Regions from separate parts of the Homo sapiens genome. Here region 1 is linked to region 2. Evidence: promoter capture Hi-C in human tissues and cell types (Jung and others, 2019). All regions are on one chromosome and are shown on one strand. Each heading gives the region's core, a stretch centred on a gene start or on the middle of the fragment in contact. The rest is flanking DNA. Distances are from core to core; before and after follow the strand shown.

The links. Contacts are between HindIII fragments. The study calls those that stand out against the background at their distance.
Region 1: a fragment that was not itself captured here is called in contact with the fragment with the promoter of NR2F1 in region 2 in 3 of the 25 tissues and cell types used here (IMR-90 fibroblasts, aorta and mesenchymal stem cells).

What each region holds. Positions count from the first base shown.
Region 1 is chr5:92,556,963-92,563,843 of GRCh38, reverse strand. LOC105379082 (a long non-coding RNA gene) reads left to right here. Exons shown (of 4, transcript NR_188298.1): 3 at 3,811-4,045. Among named protein-coding and RNA genes, the nearest start is that of LINC02058, 380 kb to the left of the region's middle. RefSeq lists an enhancer at 2,498-3,154. The HindIII fragment of the contact is 8,223 bases long and covers 1-6,881 here.
Region 2 is chr5:93,578,161-93,584,782 of GRCh38, reverse strand. It overlaps NR2F1 (nuclear receptor subfamily 2 group F member 1), which reads right to left and starts at 1,561. Exons shown (of 3, transcript NM_005654.6): 1 at 1-1,561. It overlaps NR2F1-AS1 (NR2F1 regulatory antisense RNA 1), which reads left to right and starts at 3,564. Exons shown (of 8, transcript NR_186187.1): 1 at 3,564-3,641. RefSeq lists silencers at 432-511, 3,119-3,168 and an enhancer at 3,289-3,388. The HindIII fragment of the contact is 15,492 bases long and covers 1-6,622 here.

The DNA.
Region 1 (6,881 bases), core at 1,551-4,050, 1.0 Mb after region 2:
AGGGTGGGAATAGTAGCAGGGAATTCTCAATTGCTCTTATGAATTTGCAATTGAGAGATTGCAATTCTAGGTTCTGGCTCTTTTGCTACTAGAAACACATAATCATTTAAAAATATGTGTACTCTTATTGGGTCATGCTCTTTGTAGGAACATGTAGGTCACATACCATCTCCTGATATTCCCTTGTACACAATACCATATATATATATATATATAATTATGAAATATGACTTTATTCTTTGCCCCTGGGGAGAATAAAAAGTTATACAGCTATATAAGACTGAAATACCCCTTTCCAATCTAGGACCAAGAGAGTGGTTCTTTGGGAATGGAAAAAAGGAAGAGACTGTGAGGAATTAAATTTAGGTTTAATATTGCTCCAAGTTTATTAATTTAAAAGGAAGGGTAAGTTTTCAGTTGTTTGTCTGAAATGGCAACAAATGTAAATAAAATTTTAAGATATAATTTTATCCCCTAAGTTTATCATAACATTATGTTTTTATTTGTACTTACATTATGATAATTACCTCAAAAAACTTAAGAAACTGAAGGGAAAAATATGTCTAATATAGCTAATAAAAATAGTTTTGCTTGGATGCTAAGAATTAAACAGGTGGTATTTTGGCATACATTTGTTAGTGAGAAAGAAATGGCTAAAATACTAATTGTCATTTCTTCCCAAAACATAAAATTCTCTCTTAAATAATTTTTTCATTCACAATTATTTCTTCCAAACATTCTTATTGTACAGGTGTAAAATGTCATGTACCTTTTGAACATCTCTGAACATTAACAGAAGATATAAAGATATTCAAAAAGGGTAGTTGTTACACGTACTTTGAAGCCAGTAATCACATATTTGTGTTTGTTACTGATGTCTTAATGTCCCAAAGTTGCTCTAAGTAGTTACAAGAACACAGAATAAAAATCATGAGCTTGGGGAAACATATTTTCTAACCAGTAGAACATCAATATGCCACAAATATTTTCTCTACTGACAAACTGTAATGAGGTAAAAATGCCTTCCTGCAGTAAAATCTTACCTTGAGGTTAGATGCCATCTATCTGTAGCTAAGGCATCCAAAACAAAATAAAACAAAACAAAAAAACAAAAAAAAAGTGTAATTCTTACCAATACAAAAAACAAAACTCAGACTATTGTAGGAGTCTGCCATTTTTCATAATAATTTTATGTTTAATCATAATTTTACCATTTGTAATCTTTTCAATTTTTCTGCTTTTTCCTATTAGAGATGAGTTTTAACATTACTGGTGTCCAAAACAAGTAAAAGAAACAGGTAAAATATAGTAGAGGAGATGAAAAATATAGCAATGATCTCACATTTGTGTAGTTCTCTAGAATTTACAAAGTGCTTTTGGATAGAACAACAACCTCAAATTGAAGTCCAGATTAGAATATTAAATTGATCAATTCTTTATTATTATTACTAACATTGTTTTACAAACTGTGAGGATATTCATTACACAGTACAGAGATCTGGTACTCATTTTGAGGAATGAAATGTAATGACTAAACACAGTATAAACAGTATAACCTATTTCACATTTCATAGAAAAGCTATTTGCTTTGGCTAAGTAAATAAATCCTTTCCACTCAGAAACAACTGTTGCAAATATGTAAATTTTAGATAATCAAACACTGTCCCTTGAAATAGTCTATTTATTGTAACTCTAAAAATCATTCTGGGGATACTTAGCTTAATCTCAGGGTACATTATACATTTCACACATTTAACATTTTATTTTGTAAAAAATGCAATTGAAATTGAGTACCTCCTTATTTTGGTGGAGGGTATTATAATCATTTTTCTCTAACTTTTAGATGTCAGGGAATAGTACTTGGATTTTACATAGATATGTTTTGTTTCTTCAGAATGCAAGCTCTGATTTCAGATTTAGTCAGAAAAGAGATACACATAAATCTATATGACCAGAAGAGATAAGTAGATCGTAAAAAGTCCACACACATCATAACCCTGCACATCTAACACACAGATAAGGACAGTTACAGATTATTATGGCATGGATAACTTGATAATCTATGGTGAATCTATGATAAATTTCAAACTATAACAAATACAATGACTCATATTTTTTAAGGAAACAAACCATGAAGGCATAAATTTACCCTGAGATTTGTGTCACTAAGAAACTGAATAGTTCAAAGTCAAACATTATATGACATGCTTTAGATTGCTCTTATGAAAGGCACTATAGAAATGTCACCCTATTATAACCTACTGTATTTAAGAATTAACTGCAGCAGAATAGCCACAGGAGATGAATATATACTGATATGATCATCCCCTCCTATTACTCACCAGTAGTTAATACAAAGCATGCTTTAGAAAAGAATCTATAAGACAAAGAAATAAACACACTGTTAAAAAAGTACTGCATTTAATATCAGGATTTTTAAATTAATTCTAACAAACCCTTATATTGTAGTATTTTATCTTTAATAATAGGAGCTTTTCATTTAAATGATGCAATCAGTATGCCACAAGCGGGTTCTTTCTTTAGTGGGAGGAGTTAGCAGCTCCAACATTCAATTGACCTGTTTCCAAATAATCTACAGGAAAAAAATGAAGATTAAGTCCTCTAACAAGAGCAGTTTTCACAGCCTTGCATACAAAGAGAAGGATTCGGTAAAAAGATGAGAGGGCAAGCCGCATTGTGCTGGCCCACTTAAATCTTATTTCCAATTCACTAAATGTGTTATTTGACTTGGCAAGTGAACTAGTATGTGTATTAGATCAGCAGGGAGCCTAATCAAGGAGATGCCAAGTTTACTGCAGCCCCTCTGAGCTGCATTAGCCTCAACTAGTGACCTTAAGCAAAGTGGGTGGTTGAACCCAAAAGAGAATAGCATTAACTTTTGCTTGAAGTTCAGCCTGAAGTCTCCTTTTGTGCCTTATTCCAAAAAAAAAAAAAAAAAAAATGCAAAAAGCATTTAACAGAATTGAATATAACAGAATTGAATCTAGTCTGCTCAGCACCATCTTCACACGCAAGGCTTCATAGAAGCTTGCCTCCATTAATGCTGACACATGCAAAAGAAATGAAAAGCATTAACTCAGCTGAGGCACTTGATTTTGCAGCTGCAGAACAATTCACTTTGTAACTCAGTAACTAAGATGGGGTTTTTCCGCCCAGATAAATTGCTAATTTGCTAATTGATACAAAAGTATTTTCAAATATTAAATAAACTGCAAATAAAGCAAAAAGAAAAAGAACACTAAGTTACAAGGACACCTGAAAAATATATAGCTTAGCATTAACGGATATACATATTTTTAAAGACCTATTTTACCTTGTACACAGCATTGAGCATCCATTCCCAGTTGTATGTAATAGCTTGGATGTGTAAGTGAACTCTTCAACGATATATTTGTACCAAGTAAAATGCAAACCTGTGTAGTTAAAAAATGTTGTTATATAATAAATTCAAGCAATAGATTTATCTTTAGAAACATCTTTGTTCTCAATTTAGTTTCCCTATTTTAAACTTTCCGTCTTGTCTATATACTCAAAGACTTCTAATAATGCCAGTTTTACACATTGTTTAGAAATACTTTGGAATCTATCTTTAATTCCAGGATGTTCGACTCAGAAATACTCATACAGCAAAAATTGGTTGGATATGAAGATTACAAAGTTATTGAAACTCAAAGACCTTCTGTAATGCCTTTGGTTGTAAAAGTTTTCTCTTTCCTAAGCCAAGGTTCTTTTCTTTTCTTTTTTTATTCATCCTTCATTTTCCACTGTTTGTTTGGCTTCCCTCCTCAGATCTGAAACGAAGCCAAGCAAAGCAACATCACCTTCTGGAAAGTGCAGAAACTGCAATCAAGATCAACAAAGAAAAGCACCCTTCCCATAGATTCATCTCTTTGGCGTTTAAGTGTTTGGGCGAGTCTACAAAACTCAGATTCCTCATTTAACTAGATGTTCCAGGTCACAGAGATATTCTACTAAGGCAATTTTCAAAAGACCATAAAACCACCACATCAATTTATGCTTGCAGGTAGTATAATTGCCTTTGTATCATATATTTTTAGAAAAAGTGGCTTAAAACAATTTGAATAGTGCTTTAGAAATAAGACCCTTAAATAATTGACGCTGGTATTGCCTTTCTTAACTCTGGGATTTCAAAACATTTTCCAAACATTAATTGCAATGGGACCCTGGTGAGGCTGATATTATCATACCTATTTTCCAAGACGATAAGCAGGGAGCGCAGGGCCCGTTTCTTGTCTTGCCCCATGCCCTTCAGAGCTTGTCCAAGCTCAGAGCTCCCTTAAAAACCATTGGATCAGCTCCATGGGAGCACAGAGGAAAATGAGAAATGGGCTCTTGGAGATTTAAGGGATTCTGTAAGGTTGTGTGTGAGTGAGCTGTAGCTAAAAGTCAAAGCTGGAAATCTAAGATTCCTTATTCAGTGCTTGGATATATTTCCTCATTAAGATAATTCATGTAGAATATCAGGCTTGCAGGAATATGCTGGTAAGAAGTGGACTCTGTTGCTGTTTGTTTTTGAGTAACTTATTTAATAACAAAAATGCCTCCCTTTGATTTGAATAAAAATAAATGGCTGGATTTTCACAGGCAGCATGCATAGAAGACCAGCAAGGGCCAACAGTGAATTTCGACACTGACTTTTAAAAATTGTGAAAGAGATGCTAACAGCCTAATTTGCAGTGGAGACTAGATTCTGTGGCTGTATCAGGTGGTGGTATAAAGAAGAGCCATATACAGAAGGTGAAATGAGGGGTTAAAAGTCACGCTAAACATGCTGCAAGGACCTGTGGGCATCCCAACCTTTTTTTCTTTAATTGGGAGGAGAAGAGCTTTTTACTAAAGAGTAAGTTCCACAATGTAGGCCGGTGGCCCAACTGGGAAATACTCTTGATTTGAACAGTTTGCAGCAGTTCTTTTCTGAACTCTTTATATAGATCCTCTTTCAATATGGGGACACATATTTTAAGGTAAAAGGGGTATTTTACTAATTTTTTTTAATGAAGCTTTCACTGCAAGCAATATTTGGAGTTAGTAATCACCGGCTGGTTTCTTTCCCTCCTGCACTGCAGGAATGAGGCCACTTTCACAGCTGGTTGTCAGCACATCTCTTATTACTAACACCAATTATTGATTTTTAAAAGGCCTACGCTATTAGTACCCTGCTACATCTCTTCACGTACAATATGTGTTTTAAAAATTCCTTTTGTAAAAATATAAAATCTGAGTCCAACCTTTCTATCATCACTGTGCTTGTTCTTTACATTTTATCTTATACCTTCACAGGAAAGCAAACCCGGAATCTTTTTTTTTTTTTAACTTTTGGGCTAATTTAGAAGCAGAAATACTTTGCCCATATGATCTCTCTGGCAGGTATCACATTATAAAAAAGCAAATGGTGCGTAGTGAGGGAGGATGAAAGAACATAATTAGAGGGTTTAGGATCTTCTATCCCCTTTTCTCTGCCTTTATTTCGTGCCATCCCAATCTATGTTTAAGCCAATCATAAAAACCCACCTGGCGTCATCCCCACTAGGGTGGCTGCTTTTGCATAGGACTGCACCCCAAATTGGACTTTTCTCTTCTCTTTGAAAGTTCTCAATGAAGGTGAATTTTAGGATTTCTTTCAAAAGATACTATTCACACGTCAGTCATTCTAGTTGTTGATATATTGTCCAAATGATAGGCGGCTCTGAGAATATTTATCTTTAGCAATATTTATGGGTGTATTAGTTTTGTAGAGCTGGTGTAACAAAGCTCTATGAAAACGCTACAAAGCTCACCAAAAACTGGATGGCTTAAACAGCAGAAATTAACGTTCTCATAGTTCTAGAGGCTAGACATGCACCATCAAAGTGTCAGCAAGGTTGGTTTCTGCTGAGGGATGTGAGGGATAATCTGTTTATGCCCATTTCCTAATTTCTGGTAGTTTTCTGGAAATTTTGGCATTTTTTGGATTATAGATGCATTTTCTGGTATCTTCCTTCATGCTCACATAGGATTCTCCCTGTGTGTGTGTCTATGTCTGTGTCTAAATTTCCCCTTTTTATAAAGACTCAGTCGTATTGATTAGGGACCACCCAAATGATTTCATCTGCTAGGATACCATATCCAATTAAGGTCACATTTACTGAGAGAAAGCACTTCAACAACTTTTTGGGCAACATAATTTAAACCATAACAATGGTTTGTTAAATGACGTATATATGATACTATATATATATAAATCATTATTATCATTGATTATGTATATAATCAAATACTATTTTATTATTTACAAAATACATGGTGATCATAAGAGAATATTTTACAAATTACAAATGGGAAAAGTACATGGCATTACTAAAACGTCAGTGCCAATGCCTCAGCAGAGAAAAATTAGTGCATTAATTAGTTACCCTCTGATGGATAGTTTTTAGATAATAGAGACAGGTATTGGTAAGCGAAATGGAATTTTAATTTCATGAGGATGCTAGAAAATTGCAAGTTGGAAGATCAATTTTATTTACTCCATCATTAACATGTGCTAAGTGAATATCTAAAGCAAGCTTGTCCAACCTGCGGCCTGTGGGCTGCATGCGGCCCAGCATGGCTTTGAATGTGACCCAACACAAATTTGTAAACTTTCTTAAAAGATTATGAGGGTTTATTTGCGATTATTTTTCTTTTTGCTCATCGGCTGTTGTTAGTGTATTTTATGTGTGACCCAAGACAATTCTTCTTCCAATGTGACCCAGGGAAGCCAAAAGATTGGACACCCCTGACCTAAAGTGTAATCCATACTCTGATAGATGGTTTTCAGTAACACAAATTCAACATAAAACTGAACATACATTTTCATGAGC
Region 2 (6,622 bases), core at 312-2,811:
GCCCTGCTGGCGTTTTGTTGTGGTTCCTGCTGTTTTCTTTCTCTCTTTTTGCAGCCCCCCCAGGCTCTCAGGCTCCCCCCCCAACACCCCTGCTCCCCTCGCCCGCTCCCCCCGCGCTCCGTTCCTGGGGGGGCCGCGCTCTCCTTCCCCCCTCCCCACCCCCCGGCGAGCAAGCTCCCTTCTCTCGCTTTTTTCTTCTTCCCCAAGTTGCAAAATCAGAAATGGCACAGGCGGCAGCCGGGAGCGGCGCGGGGCGCAGCGCCGGGGGCGGCGGGCATGGGCCACGGCGCGCGCACACACTCGCCCTCCGCCTCGCCCGCACCCCCGCGCACACACACACTCGCACACACAGTCGCTCACCCGCGCCGGGCGCCCGCCCGCCGGCCGCTCGGGCTACGCGCAGCGCGCGGGCTGAGCCGACATAGAGGAAGCCGGCGAGGGCGGAGGCGGCGGCGGCGGCGGAGGAGGAGGAGGTCGCGGCTGCAGGCGCCGCTGGAGCTGCCGCCGGAGCTGCTGCGGCGAGCGCCGCTGGAGGAGCCGGGACCCGGGCCGGAGTCCGAGCAGGAGTCGGGGCCGCAGCCGGAGCGCGAGCGGAGGCCGGGGCCGCCCGCGGCGCCGCCGCTGTCCCGGCGGGAGCCCTCGCCGGGCTCGGGAGTGCGGGGAGCGCGGTGAGCCGAGCAGGGCGCTGGGCGAGGCTGCCGCCGGCGATCAGGGCGCGCGGGTGTCGGGGGGCCAGGTCCAGGGCCGGACGCAGCCAGCCATTCAGGAAGGCAGCGCTGGAGAGCGGGAGGCAGCCGGCGAGGAAGATCACACACTTTGCTCTTTTTGTTGTGCCGGTGGCGCCGGGCTCTCGCTGCCTTCTTCTTTCGGGAGGTGACGGAAGGGGGAGAAAAATACGGGATAATTCACGCCGGCGACGAAATCACAGCGAAATAGAAAAAATAAAAATCAGAAGAAAATAATTGCCAAAAAAAGGAAAAAGGAAAAGCGAGAGAGACATCCAAAGTAGGTCGAATAAATAATCCTCTTCTTTTCCTCTTTCTTGCTCCTTCTTCTGCTTCTTCTGCTATAACACACAGAGCTAGTTAAAAAAACCCTGGAGATCGCCCAAAAATGTTCTTTTTTTAGTATTTTAAATAAGTGCTCTTCAGCCGGCAACCAACACCCTCCCTCCAAAAAAAATCATATATGTATAAAATAACGATAAGAAGAATACGAAGGGGGTGCCTCCTCCTCCTCCTCCTCCTTTTTTTTTTCTTTAAGTTTAGCCCTCTCTCTTCTGCAGGAATGGAGTAAAAGAGACAAGGAGGAGGGAGAAAAAGGAGAGAAAGGAGAAGAAGAAGGGGAAAACAACTAGTAGAATATGTAAGAAAAGAGAAAGAGAAGAGAGGTTCAGAGAAGAGAGGAGAGAGAGAGGAGAGGAGGGAGAGAGGGGGGAGAAAGAGGAGAGAGAGAGAGGAGAGAGAGAGAGAGAGAGAAGAGAAGAAGAGAGAGAGAGAGAGAGAGAGAGACCCAAAAATTGAATGCGTTTAAACGGGAGGACTCGCAGAGCAATGTTTCCGAAAGGGGGATCTGCGCGAATGTCTGTATATAGTGAACTTTGACACTACTATTGAAACTGACACGTTTCTATGGAGATCGCTGCCTTATATGGAGCTCGTGTCAAGGAGCCAAGAGAAGGGCTGCTGGCAACTGATAATCAAAGGCGACTGACTGGTCAGAGCCCTGAATCGGGGGGAGAGAAAATGGGAGGCTAAGGTTAGCCAAGCCTCCTGCACGCCATTGGTTGGAGAGCCCCTCCCCCCTCCTCTTTTGCTTTCTTTCTCCCCCCCCCGCTTAGCTACCTACAGACTGGGATGGTGTGGGGAGGAGGAGAGAAAGTGAGGGAGGGGGGTGTGTTTCTGACAAGCGCAATTTACATTGAGATCGCCCTGCGCTGCTATTTACTCTGAGACCTGATTAGTATGGGTCGTCTATGGTCACACACACACACACATACACACACACACACTTACGCTCACACCCCAGAGGGGGAAGGGATGACGAGGGGGAGAACGCCTAGCGATGGGCAAAAGGAGAATTAGAGGGAAATTATTTTGATTTCTTCTGAAAAGTTTTTAAAATTAGATTTTATGAGCGTGAAGAGAGTGTCATTGAAAATGTTTGGAAAAATTTTTAATGGGAATGAAACCCCCACCATTTTAATGATTTGTGAAATATACTGGATTTGGATTGTTTTCTTCTCTCACATATAAGCACAATCCAAGTCTGGATTCTGCTCATTTTATATCCTTTTTAGAAACAAGTAGAAACAGGGTAGGATCTCCCTATTTTTTAATCCAAAGTATACCTTGGTTTAAAAGGTTTAATGATGACAAAGCACACTCCTGGAATTTGCAGCTATTGCCACAAATTCGATCGGAATCAAGGGTTCCTATTTATCCCAAAGATGATTTTAAAAATAAACTTTCCAATCAATCCAATTTTTCCTTCTTCTTTTTTTTTTTTTTTATCACCTGGCTGTTCCAAACTCCAACAATGCTTCAATCATTATTAATAAAACAGTAGTAAGTCCCCATATTGTTGCAGGGTGGGGGGAGATTAGTGTGGCCAAGTCAGTCCCGGGAAAAGAGCAAACAAACGAGAAGATGGAGAGGGGGGGAGGCGGAGAGGGAGAGAGAAAAGGGGGAGGAGGAGAGAGAGAGACAGAGAGAGAGGAGAGGAAAGGAAAGAGAGGAGAGAGGAGAGCGCGCGAGATATTGAGAGAGAGAGAGAGAGAAGAGAGGAGAGGGGAGAGAGAGAGAGAGGAGAGAGAGAGAGACCCAGAGAGAGAGGAGAGAGAGAGAGACCCAGAGAGAGAGAGAGAGAGAGAGACCCAGAGAGAGAGAGAGAGACCGAGAGAGAGAGGAGAGAGGAGAGAGAGAGAGAGGAGAGAGAGAGAGAGAGGAGAGAGAGAGAGAGAGAGACGAGAGGGAGAGGGAGAGGGAGAGGGAGAGGGAGAGGGAGAGGGAGAGGGAGAGAGGAGAGGGAGAGGGAGAGGGAGAGGGGGAGAGAGAGAGAGAGAGAGAGAGAGAGAGAGAGAGAGAGAGAGAGAGAGAGAGAGAGAGAGAGAGACCGAGACCCCGATTCCTGAATCCTGAAGGTGATTGGTCGCGGGAGGAGGGGCAGGCGGGAGGAGCGGGTCCCGCGGCGGGGCTTGCAGGAATCGCTGGCTCCGGCTGCCACCTAGCGGACGGGAGCCGCTCCCGGGCGGCACACAGCCGAGTCCCTCCTCCCCTCCCCGCAGGCAGCCTGTGCCTTTTCTCCAAACGAAGACAGCACTTTGAAAATTCTTTCAATGGATTTTTTTTTCCTTGAAAGATCGTACTGGGGGAAAATGATACTTCTATTAGTTACATATTCTCCAATCGCATACTCGCACCCCCCTCGTTTTGAGATCGCTCCCCTAGGCAGGCTCAGGCGGGCGCGGAGCCGCGCGGAGTGACAAAGCCGCCGCTGCCGCCGCCGGGGGTGGGAGCCGCGCTCGCCCGCCCGCCCCTCGACTCGCGAGGGCGTAAAAGTTTGTCTCAGCTCGAGCATTCCTAGCGCCAACACGCCCTCAGGTAAAGGTGGAAGTAAATGGCCACGCTGTATTGACAGAGGTAGGGTTTGTTTTTTAATACTCGTTCTCACTTTAAGTCTCACCAGGGAGGGGTTTGGGAAGCACTGCGTGTTTGGGGGACGTTTTGCGCTTCCTGGTCTCTCCAGCCTACAAGTCGGGAGTCGGCGACCGCTTAGTGACGAGCGATGATTTTAAAGAGCAGAATAAAAGGTTTTCCCGTGCCTGCCCCACAGCCCCTCCAGCTCGAATAATGGAGAACTGTCAATGCACTCCGCGAGCGGTGGCCCATTGTACGCAGCTGATGGCGAGGAGGCGACTGGGGGTAGCAGGGGCTCCTTGCCCTCGTCCCTATGCCCAAATAAACGCGCAAACGCGCTCCCGTCTTCTGGTCAGTTAAAAGGTGAAACGAACACGATTAAAATAGACCAAAAGAAAAGAAAGAAAAGAAAACCTTTCTATGTACAGATTCTAAATCGTACTCCCCATACAGTCAGAGGCAGGGAGTCGAGGGCAGAGGCAGCAGGCGGAGAGAGGGAGATAGGGCGAGGGAAGGAGAACGCGGAGAGAGACGAAGGGAGTGGGAGACCAGCGACAGCGAGCGCCAGGGCACCGCAGGCACACTGGATGCCCAGTCCGCCGGCCCAGCCGCCCTCGGACCCTGGACCGTGCGTCGTGGGCACCAGAAACGAGACTCGGCCAAATCCTGCCTCACCAGGCAAGTAACATAATGGTTGTCGTTTCTCTTGAACTTGGGGTTGGTAACGGGCAGGGCCGGGAGGCAGTCTTGGCTCGCACGGCCTCCGCAGGCCGAGAGCAGAGTCTAGGCAGCCAGGGCGGGACGAGGAGAACTTTCTTCGGGGCCTGCTCGGGAGTTGCCCTCGCTCGGCCTCTGTCTCGCCGTAGCGCTAAGGCGAGGATCGCGGCCGCCGCGCCTCCTTGGAGGGGAGGATCGTGCCAGGCGAGCAGCAATCCACATTCAAAACAGGCTGCTCCCACCCCCACCCGCTATTCCCTCTCTCTCCTAGGCGGGAAACGGATGCCCGGGCGGAGGACGGGGACCCGCACGTTTAACACCGGCCCGGCTGTTCCTGCTGGTGCCGAGCGCGACCCGCGGTGGAGCCGGCTGCAGAGTCCGGCCCGGCTGGCCCTTGTGCCCGCGCCTTGCCTGGTTACGGCCTGAACCTGGCGAGCTTGGCTGCAGCCGCCCACCTGCGGACGCCGTTTGTAACGCCATCCCCTAATGTAACGCGATCGATGGCTGCCTGTCTGATGTGGGCGATAGTGTCAGCGGATTAAAAGGGACATCGAGCCGCTCTCCCGAGCAGACAACCTGCGGCGGCGGCGAGAGAGCACCGGGATTCGCAGCCTAGCAGCCGAGCCAGACTCCCTGCGCCGCTGCCAGCCGGCTGGGGGCGGGGAGGGGGTCGCCTCCCAGGGGTGGGGACAGAGGGGGTGTGTTGAAAGGAAGAGGCTCAATTAAAACCAACAAGAGCGCTTTCCTCCGTGCGGGGCAGGGGCGTGCGTTTGCGTCAGAGGGCGCGCGGGGGGCGGGGGCAGCCGATGCTGGGGACTGCACCCGGGGGCTGGGGGGTCTCGGAAGCGAGGAGGCCTTGCCTAGCTGGGCTGGCCCGGGGTCAGGCCCTGTAGGTGAGGGCCAAGGCGAGACGGGATGACAGCTGAGCCTGCCCGGGAGCAGAGGCGCCCACCCATCCTTACTGTGGGCTCTCCGTGCCCCCACAGAGCTTTCAAACTTGAAAGAGGCCCCTGGGACCCGGCGTGACCCTAGCGGTGGGGAGAAGTTGGGCCCGCGAGGCCTCAGGCGAAGCCGCGGGCTCCTCCGGAAGGAAGGAGGAGGGTGAAGTCCCCTGTCCTAGTCCCAGGGGTGGGAGTGGGAAGCTGTTGGTGGTGATGCCCGGAGCAGCGGAAGCCCGCGGCTTTTCGGAGGAGGGGAGCGGCTCGCACTCCTACGGGGCATCCTTGCCAACTTTCTGTCACAAGAGGGGGCGGGGAGAAACCAAGGCTTTTCGAGGAGGGCGCTGTCCCCCTCTGGAACTCGTCCGGCCTGAGTGGCACTTAGAGCTCAGTTTCTCTTCGGAAGCCTGTGCTCCCCGACCGCGGTTGCACACCCACAGGGCGCCCCACTTGTGCTCATAGCCCTGCCTCCAGCAAAAATGTCTTCCCTAGAGGCACTGAGAGGTCAGCTTAGTTCCTGGGAAGCCCTTTCTTTCTTTCTTCAAGGCTCTCTTTTGATACTGGTCCCAATTGGCACACTTGTCCTGGGCCTAATGCGACCCACACTCAACCAGGAAATAATGATATCTGTTGTTGTGGGGTAGGGTACCTAATAGAAAACTGATCATAGTTTTCGAGAGTACTTAGATCCCCCAATTGGGAAATCCTACATACTTGTCCAGGCACGCTCAGCTGCAGGAGCAGAAAACGCAGTTGTAGTGTCCACGTTTCTTTCACCCACCCCCTCTTCTTCAGATCTCTCTCCCTCCCTTCTAGGCCAGGCCTTTCACCTCGGAACCTTAAGCTGAGTCTGGACGTGGTTCTTGGACTCGGACCGCTGTGGCTCTTGCCTCAGCATCCTACCCGAGGCCTCCAGCCAGGCCCACAGGGGCTCAGCCCTCTCCAGGGTCTCTCTTTCGGTTTGGCGGGTCTGGGAACTGTAAGGGCCTTGCCGGGGCCTGGGCTCCCGGGAGCCTCCCTTCCTTCCTCTGCCTTCCTGGTTCCCACAGACCTGTTCAGTGCACACTAGATCTTTAGTGTAGTTCCCCAAAAAGGCGATGAGAAGGTACCGCTCCGCTTGGGGAAAGGAATTAGGCTGTAAGCCTATAGTACCCCTTGCGGGCTGCTAGCATCAAGCTCAGCGTTAATCACGTTTTAAAAGACATACCAGACAAAGCTTGATCTCTCCCAGCTTGCCACCCAGTAAATTGTGATCTGGTGAGAGAGGAAGAGAAGCACAGATCGGTTTGGCTGCACATTCAGGGTTGACTTGCGTTCCAGGCCCCAGAA